Linked DNA regions of Homo sapiens: region 1 is linked to region 2. Evidence: promoter capture Hi-C in 16 types of primary human blood cells and fetal thymus (Javierre and others, 2016). All regions are on one chromosome and are shown on one strand. Each heading gives the region's core, a stretch centred on a gene start or on the middle of the fragment in contact. The rest is flanking DNA. Distances are from core to core; before and after follow the strand shown.

Region 1 (7,273 bases), core at 2,710-5,209, 120 kb before region 2:
TTGTTGGGCACTTTCTAGATGCCAGACACTGTCCTGAGCACTATCCATGTGTCATCACTTAATCTTCACGGCAGCTTATGAGGTAGGTACTATTATGATCCCCAATTTTGGTGATGGGAAACTGAGGCAGAGAGCTGTTAGTAACATTTAAAGTCACACAGCTAATAAATGGCAGAACTGGGATATGAACCCAGGCAGTTCGGCTCTAGAGTGCACTTTCTTACCCTTTCTCTCTTCTTACCTTATAGATGTTGTTGTCATTGGTGGTGGTGGTGGTGGTGTGTGTGCATGTTGATTGAGATAACCTGGAACACATGAAAGATGTCAATAAATGTCACTTTACTTTCCACAAGTTCTACAAAACTCTGGAAGGAATAGCACACTGATTATTTTGTCTTCTCTCAACTTCCATCCCCATGCCAGCCCCAATCCAGGGCTGACTCCAATTAGAAGAGGCTCTGTTTCAGCAGACAGGATAAGCTGTAGTCCCAGAAGAACCCTGACTCTCAGGGTAGAGTGCAATGCCAAGGCCCCCTGGCCCTTTGCTACTCAAAGTGTGGTCCTGGGACCAGCAGCATTAGTATCATCTGGGAGCTTGTTAGAAATGCATGATCTCAGGCTTCACTATGACCTACTGCACCAGAATTTGTATTTTAACAAGACCCCAGGTGATTTGTGTGCACATTAAAGTCTAGGAATCACTGCCCAAAATCAATACTTTTTCTGTTTGATCCTTCCAAGCGGTCACTCATTTGCTGAGGTGATGGGAGTTCACCAATGCATCCCTTCACAGATGCGATGTTTATATTGAGTACACATTTATCTTCTCTGTGCAGGAGATGCAAAGTCAAATCCCTTCAGTTGGCCAGATGGGAACTCTGGTAGAGTGTGCATGTTCTGTCTAAAAGGGACAGCTACCATTTCACTCCAGCCAACTGCTACATGGAAACGCTATCCCAGTGTTTAGATCTTCTGATATTTTCTTTTAAGATGGGCCTCACTCTGTTGCTCAGGTTAGAGTGCAGTGGCATGATCACAGCTCACTGCAGCCTCAACTTCTCAGGCTCAAGTGATTCTCCTGAGTCAGCCTTTGGAGTAGTTGGGACTATAGGCATGCACCACCATGCCTGGCTTATTAATTTTTTTTTTTTTTAGTAGAGACAAGAGCTTGCTATGTTGCCCAGGCTGTTCTTGAACTCCTGAGCTTGAATGAGGTGTGATCCCCACACCTGTTGGGATCTTCTGATATTTTAATCAAAGCTGGAAATGTGGATCTTCATCTGAAATCTCTTATTTGTTAAATGTTAATAACTAATTCAAACTAGTAAAATAACTTTGAGGGCCAAAGAAGCATGTGTGCTGGCCATATTCTCCAAGGGATGCCAGCTTGTGACCTCTGACCTAAAAATGACTTCTAAAGAGTGCAGCTTCTCAAATAAATCAAGTATGTATTGTACATGACAGTCTTTTGAAAGTTCAGAGGTTTTTGCAAAGCATGCAAGATTTTCCATTACTTGGTTGTCTCTACTGTCAGCTACACTCAACCACAAATATTTAATTGCTGTTTCATCTTCTGTACTTTGGCATGTATCTGTTCTCTTTGCTTTGACTATCCATTCCCCTTCATCCGTCTAGCTAGCTTTGATTCATCCTTCAAGATGCAAACCAAATTTCACCTCCTCTGTGAATATTTTCTGGTTTCCCTCCATTACAGTTGCCCACTAGTGCAATTCTCCACCCTGGGCCATGTTGTGCTGGAATCATTTGTTTATATCATTGTTTCCCCTATAAATGCTCAGACGTCAGGGACCAAGTCTTATTCCTAACATCTAGGAAGTGTTAGGCACAGAGTAGATGCACTCACTAACTATTGCAGCATAACCAATCACTCCACAACTTAGCAGCTTGAAACAGCAAACATTTATTGTCTCAGTTTCTGTGGGTTAGGAATTTGGGCATGGCTTTCCTGTGTATCTCTGGCTTGAGGTTGCTTACCAGGTTGCAGTCAGACCTCAAAGTCTCTTACCAGGTTGCAGTCAGAGTACATGCTGGAGCTGTGGTCTCATGTGAAGTCTCAGCTGGGGAGAATCTGCTTCTAGGCTCCCTCCCATGGTTTTTGGAAGGTTTCAGTTATTTGTAGGCTGTTGGAGCTAAGGGTCTAGGGTCTCGGTTTCTTGCTGACTGCTGGCCAGAGGACTTCCTCAGTTCTTTGTCACTGGGATCCTTGGACAGCTCACAACATGGCAGCTGGCTTCCCTTGGAGTGAGAGTGAGAGAGTGCTCCAGACGGAAGATGCCATCTCTTTGTAATCTAATTCCAGAAGTGACATCTCTCCTCTTCTGCATTCTGCTTGCTAGAAGTCGGCCACTAAATAAAGCCCACACACAAGCGGGGAGGGAATTACACAAGAGTGGGGCTACCAGGAGGCAGGGAGTATTGAGGTCATCCAAGAAGCTGCGTACCGAAATGCCCTGCTTATAGTTATGTGCTGTGGTTACTCAGCCTTGGGATTCAGATTGCCCAGGTTCAAATCTTAGTCCTGTCACTCTGTGAAAGTTTACTTACCTGTAATGGGCATCAAGGGCTTCTTGACCCATAGAATTGATATGGGGACTGTGTTTAACAGAATGCCTGCTTGCCTCTAAAAAGGTGACCTATGATTAATGTTGTTTTAAGAAATGATGATGATGATTTTTTTTTTTTGAGATAGGTTCTCTCTCTGTCACCCAGGCTGGGGTGCAGTGCCATGAACATGACTCACTGCAGCCTGGACCTTCTGGACTTAAGTGGCCTCCTGAGTAGCTGGGACCACACGTGAATGCCACCATGCTTGGGTAATTTTTAAAATTTTTGTAAAGAGAGGGTCTCACCATGTTGCCCAGGCTGATCTTGAACTCCTGGGCTCAAGGAATCCTCCTGCCTTGGGCTCCCTAAGAGTTGGGATTACAGGTGTGAGCCACCGTGTCTGGCCAAAGTAATGATTATTGAATGTATCATAGGTATCTAGGTAAGAGAGTGACCATACGAAAAAATGGAAGAAGCATGACTGGTTATATGCTCAGTTCTCTGAATCACCCCCTCCGACTCAAGTTCCTCATTTCTAGATTTTTTCCTTCCTATAAATTAGCTTGATCTTTCCCTGGTATGACTCCTACAACTCTGCCCCGGCCTCCAAGTCTAAGTGAGCTCTCCCTATTGTGCTCAAATCCTGTCCTTTTCCCACACCAGATCATTTTAACCCTTGCCATTCTTCAAGCCAACAATTCTCCCAACAATTTATTTCTTCCGCTCCCACCACTCCAGTGCTCAGTCAGTGAGTGATTCTGGGAAGAGTGGTCTGGCTGGGTTGGATGGCCAGGTCTATTTCAAGTTCATCTCAGCTGTCTGGTCATTTTTTATTTAAAAAAAAAAAAAGCTTTGGGAAGTAGTCTATTTAAACACACGTAAGCAGCTGTTCCTCCCTTTCCACCTGCTTTCATCCCTTTCTCAGCAGATGGGATCATCATCTATTTTATTGAAATAACAATAATACCCCCAAGTTTTGTTTTGTTTCATTTTGTTTTTATGAGACGGACTCTTACTCTGTCTCCCAGGCTGAAGTGCAGTGGCACGATCTTGGCTCACTGCAACCTCTGCCTCCTGGGTTCAAACGATTCTCCTGGCTCAGCCTCCTGAGTAGCTGGGATTACAGATTTGCGCCACCATGCCTGGCTAATTTTTGTATTTTTAGTAGAGATGGGGTTTCACCATGTTGCCCAGGCTGGTCTTGAACTCCCGACCTTAAGTGATCCACCAGCCTTGGCCTCCCAAAGTGCTGGGATTACAGGCATGAGCCACTGTGCCCCGCAAATACCCCCAAGTTTACTGACCTCTTAACTATGTTAGATGCCAATCTAAGCCCCTTTAATGGATTATCTCCATTGTCACAATAACTCCTACGAAGATAGTACTGGGACTATCCTATTTTACATATAAGGAAAGTTAGGCTCAGAGATATGGAATGATTGACAAATGTCCAACAGTAGAGCTGAGATGTGAATCCATGTTAACCTGATCCCCAAATTGAAGCTCTTACCCACTTTTACTGAAAAGCCGTTTGGATTCTTTAGTCCACCTACTTTCTATCTCTGCTTAATGGGCTGCAAGATGCCCATTTCACTGAACTTGTTTCTCCTAAGGACCTGCAGGCTGCTTTGCTGAATGCTCCTCCTCCGCCTTGATCCTGCTTTGGCATTCCAAACTGCTGGGTTTGTGATCCTTTTTGGATCTCTTCACTAGTTTATGGGGCTCTGCATGCTCTTGGCTCTCCAACAACCACTAGAACTTCTTACTGACCGGCTGTTTTCATTCCATCCCTTAAATGTCAGCATGTTCTGAGGTTCTGTCTCAGCCTTCCTTGCAGGCTACACATTCTCCCTGGGTGACCTCATGTCCTCTCGTAGCTCCAGAATCGTTGCTTCTTAAATAATCTCTCTGTTAATTTTTTAGTCCCTGCTTTTATTTGAAGCTTCTGATCTGCCTTTCTAACCAGTGGGTGTTCTGGGAGTGCTTCAAAATCAGCTTGACTCAACTCAATGTCATCTTTCCCGAAATACTCTCTTCACCCGTGTTCCTTAGCCTAGTAGTAAAAACAGTCTACCCAGTCTGGACTTTAGTTAACAAATTCTGTTTATTTCTCCAAAGCAGTACCAGCGATTATTCCTCTGGAAAGACCTCTGTCTCAGCTCAATTTTCCTCTACCATTTGACTGGACTATTGCAATAATTTCCTAAGGGTCTCTCTGTCTTCAGAATCCTCACTGCTATCCATCTCCAAAGACATAGACCTATTTATGTTATTTGGCATCTTGAATTTTTCCTGCTATATATTTCATAAATACCAGATTTCTTGGACTAGCATTCCATGACCTTCTCATATTGCCCACACTGACTTTGCTAAGTTTATTTAATTATTAAAAGTACTATGTGGGGCTGGGCGCAGTGGCTCACTCCTATAATACCAGCACTTTGGGAGGCTGACGCTGGAGGATTACTGGAGCCAGGAGTTTGAGACCAGCCTGGGCAATATGGAGAAACCTTGTCTCTACGAAGAAAAATGCAAAAATTAGCTGGATGCGGTGGCACGCCTGTAGTCCCAGCTACTTAGGAGGCTGAGGTGGGAGGATCGCTTGAGCCCAGGATATGGAGGATGCAGTGAGCTGTGACTGCACCACTGCACTACAGCCTGGGCAACAGAGCGAGATCCTGTATCAAAGTCCCAGCTACTTAGGAGGCTGAGGTGGGAGGATCGCTTGAGCCCAGGATATGGAGGATGCAGTGAGCTGTGACTGCACCACTGCACTACAGCCTGGGCAACAGAGCGAGATCCTGTATCAAAAAAATAAATAAATAAAATAAAAAGTACTATGTGATAATTACTGATAGAAAAGCTCTTCATTTTTATAGGTTTATCTTACAACCATACAGCATCTGAAATTTCTACTTTAAGTGGTAGATATAATGGATCACAGTGATAGATTCTCCTGCATCAGCCTCCCAAGTAGCTGGAATTACAGGTGCCCACCATGATGCCCAGCTATGATGTTAAGCCATTCTTGTGCTCCTAATATAAGTGTATTATTCTTTTGATGAACTGATGAGCTTAATTTTCTAATATTTATTTACAAATGTGTATCTGTATTCATAAATGAATTTGTCTGTGGCTTTCTGTTTTTGTGCTTTCTTCATCAGGCTTAACTAATAAGGTGATTCTAATTTCATAAAAGTAGTAATATCAAATATGTATGCATGTGGGCCTTAATAGGCACCAGACACTGTTCTAAGCAGTTGATAGTTATAAACTCACTTAATCTTCACAACAATCTCCATGAAGTAGAGTTTCCTCGTCATTTAACAGAGAAGGGAGTGGAGAAAGGAAGAGAATAAATAACTTGCCCAAGGTCACACAGCCAGTAAGTATTATAGCCATGACTTGAACAAGGCAGAATGGTTCTAAGAGCTTTGTGCAAAGTGCTTTGCTAACTTCTTCGAAGTCATAGTCAACTTGGGGAGTTTCATTTTTTTCTGTAGTCTAAGATACTTTAATAATATAGGAAGAATTATCTTTTTTTTAAGGCTTGGTAAACTTGGATGTAAATCTATGCAAGTGTGGTGATTTTTAAAATGGTAGATCTTGACCTTTCCAATCGTTCATGTTATTGATCTGTTTAGGTTTTCTTCTTCTTTGGTCAATTACTTAAGTTTTAATTTTGTTAGACTTTCTTCAATTTCCCTTTGATATTTAAATCTGTTGCCATGGCCTTGCACAGATTTGAAGATATTGCTCCATTGTTTTCCAGTTAATATTTGTTGTTAATTAAAAATGTGATGCCAATCAGATTATTGTCTCCCCTATACTTTCTATATTGATTTCTTTCTTTTTCTTTCTAATTCTTTTTTTTCTCTCTCTCTCTTTTTAGTAGAGTTTCTCTGTGTTGCCCAGGCTGGAGTGCAGTGGCGTGATCTTGGCTCACTGCAACCTCCACCTCCCAGGTTCAAGCAATTCTCCTACCTCAGCCTCCCTAGTAGCTGGGATTACAGGTGTGTGCCACCATGCTTGGGTAATTTTTGTATTTTGTATTTTTTTTTTTAATGGAGTCTAGCTCTGTTGCCCAGGCTGGAGAGCAGTGGTGTGGTCTCGGCTCACTGCAACCTCTGCCTCCCAGGTTCAAGTGATTTTCCTGCCTCAGCCTACTGACTAGCTGGGATTACAGGCACCCACCATGATGCCCAGGTAATTTTTGTATTTTTAGTAGAGATGGAGTTTCACCATGTTGGCCAGCTGGTCTCGAACTCCTGACCTCAAGTGATCCTCCTGCCTTGCCTCCCAAAGTGCTGAGATTGCAGGTGTGAGCCACTGTGCCTGGCCTAATTTTTGTATTTTGGTAGAGATGGGATTTTTCCATGTTGGCCAGGTTGGTCTTGAACTCCTGGCCTCAAGTGATCCACCCACCTCGGCCTCCCAAAGTGCTGGGATTATAGGCATGAGCCACTGCATCTGGCTTCTTATATTGGTTTCATGTTGATGCTGTAGCAAATTACTACAAATTTAGTGACTTGAAACAACACAAATGAATAGGTGTGTAGAAGTCTGAAGTGGGTCTCACCGGGCTGAAACCGACAGGTGGGTAGGGCTGCATTCCTTCTGGGGGCTTTAAGGAGAATACATTTATTTGTCTTGGTCAGTTGTAGAGGTGATGCATCTCCAGCCCAGAAATAGGGCTTTATAGACAGGG
Region 2 (7,418 bases), core at 2,714-5,213:
CCTCCATCAGTTCTGCTCTCCTCTTTGTTGGCTTTATTGTTGGTTTCTCCTCTTGATAGCAGAGATGACCATTGGAAGCTTCAGGCTTATTTTAGATTAATTCATCATCTCAGAAAAAGAAGTTTCTCTTTTCCAATAGTTTTCACAAATGTTGTGTGGTTTATTCTCACTAGAAAGATTTGAGTTACTTTCAGTTCTTGAAATATAATTAGAAAGTGATGATGTCAGGCTTGGTCATATGCCTGTCTTTGAACTATGTTCAACCCATACAAACCACATGGGAATAAAAGAGGGAAAACTGTTTGTCCAAGGATGGCAAGGATTACTAGTTGTCCTCCATAACCATTCTTTAGTTCTTTCTTGATACCAAAATCTCAAAGTGTTAGCCAGGCATACAGCCATCCAGAATCAAGACTGCATTTTGAAGCATCTCTTGAAGCTAGAAAGTCAAATGATAAAATGCTGTCAAATTGAATACGAGTTGAAATAATACAGGCAACTTCCAAGAAATGTCCTTAAACAGATATGGCATGTCTTTACATATTTACTAATGACCAGAATGTGAACATTCTGGCTGCAGATGAATAAGTCATTGTAGACTATGTGGTGACTTTAGAATGGAGGAAATGCATGGTAGAGTAACAAGATAGAGGGAGCCTGGGTCCCAAACACTTTGGAGCTTCCATACAAGCCCTAAAGTACCTTCATCTGGACTTTCATGTGATTACAAAAATAAACATATACCTTGCTTAAGTGGGTGTTAATTGACAAACTACACAACCCAGCATAATCCTACCTGATACCCCCAAAGCAGAATCACGTTTGCTACTGTAAACAGATAAAGGTTTAGGAGATGGGCAGGTATGTCCAATGTCTCACTTCCTAAAAAATTCTATCCAAGTCAGTCATTACTCTGATTGGAAATTTGAAGAGGAAAATCTTCCTGGTTTTGATATATGTGAGTACCCAGGGATATCACAGTTTATGAATTCAAAGGTTAAAAATTATTTAAAAATTAAGCCAAGCACAGAATTATGAGAAATCATTATATTCATGTTTTATTTTCTAAGGGAAATAGTACTGATCACAGCAGATGACTCCACATTTAACCTTGTAATTTTAACAATGGAATACAAAAATAGCAGGTTCATGATGTGAATAATTGTTCAAAGTATATATAAGAGCTCCTTCCAGGCCAGGCATTGTGGCTCATGTCTGTAATTCTAGCACTTTGGGAAGCTGAGGCAGGAGGATCACTTGAGCTCAGGAGTTCAAGACCAGCTTGGGCAACACAGTAAGACTTCATCTCTACAAAAAATTAAAAAACTAGCTAGGTGTGGTGGCACATGCCTGTAGTCCTAGCTACTCAGGAGGCTGAGGCAGGAGGATCCCTTGAGCCCAGGAAGTGGAGGCTGCAGCATGAGCTATGATTGCACTACTGCATGCCAGCATGGTCAACAGAGTGAGACACTTCCCCTCACCCAAAAGAAGAAGAAGAACTCCTTTAAGTATATTTGTTTTGACATTTTTATTAACAATTAGAATGAGGAATTAATTAAATTGTGATCAACTGTGGAAATTACATGATGCCAAGTGAGTGGTTCATGCTTTGGGTAATGGAATCATAGAATCATGCAACATCTAAACTTTGAGAGACTTTTAAGGTGAATCATAGCGTCCCATTTTACAGCTGAGGAACCTGAGGCTTAAAGGGGGTCCACTTGCCCAAAGTACACCTGGAATAAAGGGTAAAGCTGGGATACAATCTTTCTACTTTTTCTTTTTGAATAAATGAAAGCTACCTCGTGGTTTGACTTCAAATAGACATTTAAAAAAAACTAGGGCAGCGAACTGATGAGACAAGATGAAATGCAATCAAGTCAAATCTATAAGGACCTACACATTGGGTCCAAAAAGGCCCACTGTACAAGCACAGTATGGGGTAGCTGTGCCTTAATCAGCAGCACTTGTAAGAAACATTTAGAGATGTTACTTGGCTGCAAGTTTGAGATGTCAGCAGTGTGATATAGCCACAAGAAAAAGATAATGGAGTCTTAGGTGGCATTACTAGAAATAGAACTTACAAAAGAGAGGTGAGAGTCCTGTTGAACTTTTCAATCCATATCTGAAATTCCTCGCGCAGTCCCAGGTGTGAGATTTTAGAAGAGACATAGACAAATTAGCTTACATCCAGGAGAGGAGCCTAGGATGGAATTATATGAATAATGGTCAAAGGAAGTTAGGAAGCTGCAAAGTGCTGTAACTAAGAGCTTGAATCTTGGAGTCAAGACTGCCCGGGTTTAATCCCAGCTCTGCCAGTTACTGTGTATATGTTTGTTAAATCTTCTTATCACTGCCTGTAGATTAGAAATTACAATAATACCTATCTCCAAAGATAAATGAGGTAGTGCATGTCAAGTGATTAGCGCATAACTCCCATAAAACAAGCACTCAATAAATGCTAGCTACTATTAGAATTAAGACAGCAAAGTGATGCCAGGGTAATGGTAACAACTTCATAGGTTGTGAATATTTAATCAGTTAACCCATGCCAGGTGCTTGATACAAAGTTGGCAGCTATTATTATTATCTGCCGTAGAATTGGTTTAAGGTTTCTAGGGATGGGACTAGTTTGGGGACAAAATATTTTCTGGTTTGGGCTAAGATCCACAGAACCTAATGATCAGTTTACAGCCTGAGGAAGGAAGTCAGTTATACCCTGATCAGGGTGGGGGTCATGGTGGTCATCTAGACATTCTATGGCTGGGTGGTGGTGGAGGGCACTCACCTTGTGAACACTCGGACATGGTGAATTGGCATTGGCATTGCTGTTGAAGGACAACTCAGCCGTGTTCTTAGCCATGGCCATTTAGGCCTGTTCTGATGCAGGGTTCTGATCCAAGGTACCAGTGTGGTCCCTCAGGGAAGTACTGGGGATCGTCACTTATGCCTGTTCTGGACATGGTCACCGAGAACTGTCCTGTAGGCATTCACTTAGGAATCATTCGAAGTGGAATTGCTCCTGGATACGTTCTCCTTGTACTCTGTTTCCTCCTCCTAGTGTCTCTGTGTGAAGAAGCCCTCCTCACTCAGCCCTCGGCGACCCTCTGGTACCCTGGACAGCTCCCCGGGGAGCAGTCTACCGCTAGGCGGCGGCTGCTAAGAGAGGAACCCTCCTGACGCGGAGTCTGCCGCTCCGGGGCTCGCTCTCCGGCAGGCCCGGGGAGAGGTGGGGTGACAATGGGTTGGGGTGCGCGCGTGCCTCATAGGTGCGAGACAGAGCGAGCCGCCGGGGTGTGAGTCAGCGCGCTGGGGGCTAAGAAGCTGGGTGAATAGTCACGGAATCTCACTCACGCTCGGCTCCTCCACCCATCCCGTCTACAGCGCGTGTCCCAGTCCAGGGCGTGCGTGCGCTCGGTGTCCGATTCCGGGCTGTGTGTGTCCATTTGGCGAGATGTCGAGAGCGGGGGGAGTGTCCTTGTCGGTGTATCTGGGCCCAGGTTAGGGGACTTCTCCTCCCCACCCCCGCGTGGGTGTGGGGGTGTGTCCGGGCTAGGGCGCGTGTGCTTCTGTGCCTGTGCGTGCGTGTGCGGGTCAGGGTGGTGGGACCGCGCATCAGGGCAGGGTGCCTGCGTCTGCGTCTGGGTCTGTCTGGTCTGCATGTCGGCGCGATCTCGACCTGGATTCGTGTCCCTGGATGTCGAGAGGCCAGCGTGGTGGGGGTGTCCAGCCTCCCGGAGGAGTACTATGCCTTGACACCTTCGTTTCACCGCCCCAAAGCTGGCCTGGGGCTCCGTAGGGAGTGGCCTGCATGGGGAGGGCCCGCGTGCTGTGTTTCTGGGAGGGGTAAGAGAGTGGGGGCGCAGGGGGCGGGCCAGGTCCCTGGGCGCGGCGCGGGCTCGGGGGACCCGCGCGGCTGACGTCAGGCCACTCCTTAAATAGAGCCGGCAGCGCGCTCCGCTCGGCATTTCCCGAAGAGCCAGATCGCGGCCGGCGCCAGCGCCACCGTCCGGTCCACCCGCCAGCCCGCACAGCCGCGCCGCCGCCGAGCGTTTCGTGAGCGGCGCTCCGAGGATCAGGAATGGGGCTTCGGGCGCTGGGCGCGCTCCGAACCCGGCGCACGTAAGAGCCTGGGAGCGCCCGAGCCGCCCGGCTGCCCGGAGCCCCATCGCCTAGGACCGGGAGATGCTGGAAATGCAACCGCCTGTTCCCCGAGGAGCCGCTGCCCCCGGGACCCCCTGGCACTGTGCGCACCCTGGTCAGCAGCCCCCGGAGAAGACGGCGCCCCCAACGCCCGACCCGCGTGGCCGTGGCAGCGCCACGCGAGCCCTCTAGGCGACCGCAGGGCCACAGCAGCTCAGCCGCCGGTGCCCCCTCGGAAACCATGACCCCCGGCGCGGGCCCATGGAGCCATGGCCTATAGGGTCCTGGGCCGCGCGGGGCCACCTCAGCCGCGGAGGGCGCGCAGGCTGCTCTTCGCCTTCACGCTCTCGCTCTCCTGCACTTACCTGTGTTACAGCTTCCTGTGCTGCTGCGACGACCTGGGTCGGAGCCGCCTCCTCGGCGCGCCTCGCTGCCTCCGCGGCCCCAGCGCGGGCGGCCAGAAACTTCTCCAGAAGTCCCGCCCCTGTGATCCCTCCGGGCCGACGCCCAGCGAGCCCAGCGCTCCCAGCGCGCCCGCCGCCGCCGTGCCCGCCCCTCGCCTCTCCGGTTCCAACCACTCCGGCTCACCCAAGCTGGGTACCAAGCGGTTGCCCCAAGCCCTCATTGTGGGCGTGAAGAAGGGGGGCACCCGGGCCGTGCTGGAGTTTATCCGAGTACACCCGGACGTGCGGGCCTTGGGCACGGAACCCCACTTCTTTGACAGGAACTACGGCCGCGGGCTGGATTGGTACAGGTAAGGACCAGGAGCTCCGCTCCGTGCGCCGGGTCTCTGATCGCTTCCATTGGGAGAGCCATCCGTCTCTTGTGTTTTCTCTTTCTTTTAACCCAACTCATTGTATGGGTTCAGGCTGACACACAGGGCCATGGGGGGCTATAGCAGAATTTACCCAGAACTTCCCAGTGATAATCTAGACGGGCAGTTTCTGGAACTGCAAAGGGCGTTCCCTCGTCACTGGAGTCGTTGGAAAAGGATTATCTCCAGTCAAACCTAAGTGCCAGCTAAAGGGCTAACTCCCTCTGTGACCAGCCCTTAGGGTGCCCAAGGAAGGGACAGGCGAGGACCTGTGCTGCCTGAACACGGCACCATCCTAACCCTCTGTAGGTCTTTGCTGGTACCCAGCCCCTGAAGGACCCTGAGAAAGATAAGGCAGTTCAGAGACCCCTTGCAGCAAGGCTCTGTTTGGGAAAGGTCCCCAGAGTTCAGGCCAAATGACAGTGCATCGCCAGAGGTCTCCAGTAAGAAAGATGCCTTAGGGAGTCTCAATCTCAAACCCAGGTATTTGCTGCTGTACTGGGGCTGAGACCCCCAGTAGCTCTGGCCCTGGTAGGTGGTCTTTGAGTAGTGGAAAGAGCCCTGGATTCGAGTCTTGGGTCTGTCACTTAAGCTTGAGCAAGTTTCTTAAACTCTATCAGCCTCTATTTTCTCATCCATCCCAATGGGCAGGAAAACAGCCCTTGCCCTGTATACCTTCCAAGGCTTTTCTGAAGTGCCTTAAAGGTGTAAAAAAGGCACTTCACTTTAAGTGATGCTTCTAAACCAGCAGCCAAAATGTGGAATTTGAAGGTGGGCCCTGCGGGTGAAGGCTAGCAAGGGTGCTAGGGGCAGCCAGTCATGCATAGACTGTCTATGCTTCCCATGCATGCCAGGGAGGAGAATTATCCCCACTGGGGGAGTCAAGGCACAGACCAAAGCTTCTGTGAGGTGGCAGCGTCCACGCCTCAATGCCTTTCTGCCTCCCTAGCCCTGTATGGTGCTGAAGTGTAGGACTGGCCCACATGTGGGTGGTGTAATGTCCCGGCTCCCTGTTAACACATAGGTCACAGAATTCTCACAATTCACCTGACCCTTTGAAGACTTTCTAGAAACATCTGCATAGTAATGACGTTGGGGAGGGGTAACATGGTAGCTGACAGAGTAGCTGAGGCTAAATCTGCTGTTTTTATCTACAGCTTTAGGCAGTAGAGGTCATATGCATATTGGACAAGGGACAACTTTGTTAGAAAGAGGACCCCACTGGGCTTATAATAGAGGGCCCTGGATTTACCAAAAGTAGGGGGACCGCAGGCCTGATTTAGCACCTTTGCAGGTTACTCCTGGCTCGCAATGGTTGTAGTTGTGGGGACGAGTGGGTCATGCATCATCCTTAGCAGGCAGACACATAGTCTGTCCCCATTGCAGCCAACCAGGGGCTAGCTAGCCTGTGGGTGGCCCCAGCACCATTATGTCTGGTTAATAGGGTAGGGTGGCACAGAGTGGCAGATCTGGCTTCATGCCAATGCCAATAGCCCACTGTGCTTTCCAAGCTGTGACTCATGGGCATCCCGTCTAGGTGCATGTGGACACTGTCTGAGTCAGATCCCGGGATGGAGGAGGCAAACACATTGAACAGCAGAGCCCAGAGTGGGTCAGCCATGACCACATTCGAATGCAGGCCAGCATTTCCTCGATGGAAAATCTGAAGATCATTATGACACCTTTTGCCAATGCGAAGTGCCTTTTAAGTGCAAAACAGCAAAATTCTGAGCATCTGGCTTTCAGATAGTGTGCCCTCCAATAAATACCTATGCCCTGAACCCAGACTCTCCTCCCTCCCCTCTCTTCCTTCCACCACTAAACAGCATACCTCAGGCTTCCATCCTGGAGCCCATGTCATTCAGGGATGGCTGCTTTTTATTTTTAACCTTGGCATGTGTGATTCTAAGCAAGCTTAGCTGTGAACCTTAGAGAGGGAAGCCATGTCTTATTTTTTATTTATTTATTTTTTTTTAGCACATTTGGATTCTGCTAAAATTCTCAGCTGAGTCTTGGTAGGTTTTATTTAACATCAAGCATGCTGACAGCTCTGCTTCTCTCTTCTCTCCCCCTCTACCACCTTTCCCCACTTTATATTTCTAAAAGACTATCCTAGAGGTCTGGTCGTAATTGCCCTCTCCCCATTGCTTGACCAGGAAGGCTGGGAGGCTCCAGTGTCAGGAAAAGGCTGTGTGGTTTGTGCTTCTTTCAGTTACAAATCCACACCCCTAGAGTCAAGTGTTTAGCTTGTGGATTGCCATTTCTGTGCAGGGTAATACTACCCCACTTAGATGCTGTTTCCATAACCTCCAGAACATCTTTCTGTATGTAAAGAACATTTTTGTACATTTCTTTTTATTATGACCAAGTCATACACATTAACTGCAGAAATCATGGGGATTTCTGGAATCTTTTAAAACCCATGTTCTTACTTTCTTCCTGAATCCCATGAGCTAGGTAC

The links. The method cuts DNA at HindIII sites, captures the fragments that hold promoters and counts their contacts. A CHiCAGO score of 5 or more calls a contact.
Region 1: a contact is called between a fragment that was not itself captured here and the fragment with the promoter of HS3ST2 in region 2, in 1 of 17 cell types (M0 macrophages). The highest score is 6.5, in M0 macrophages.

The regions. Positions count from the first base shown.
Region 1 is chr16:22,690,722-22,697,994 of GRCh38, forward strand. No RefSeq gene overlaps it. Among named protein-coding and RNA genes, the nearest start is that of LINC02890, 81 kb to the left of the region's middle. The HindIII fragment of the contact is 1,092 bases long and covers 3,414-4,505 here.
Region 2 is chr16:22,810,199-22,817,616 of GRCh38, forward strand. HS3ST2 (heparan sulfate-glucosamine 3-sulfotransferase 2) reads left to right here and starts at 3,964. Exons shown (of 2, transcript NM_006043.2): 1 at 3,964-4,897. The coding sequence starts at 4,413. It overlaps LOC107984851 (collagen alpha-1(XVI) chain), which reads right to left and starts at 4,661. Exons shown (of 4, transcript XR_001752349.2): 1 at 4,509-4,661; 2 at 2,789-3,066; 3 at 2,085-2,203; 4 at 1-439. The HindIII fragment of the contact is 5,471 bases long and covers 77-5,547 here.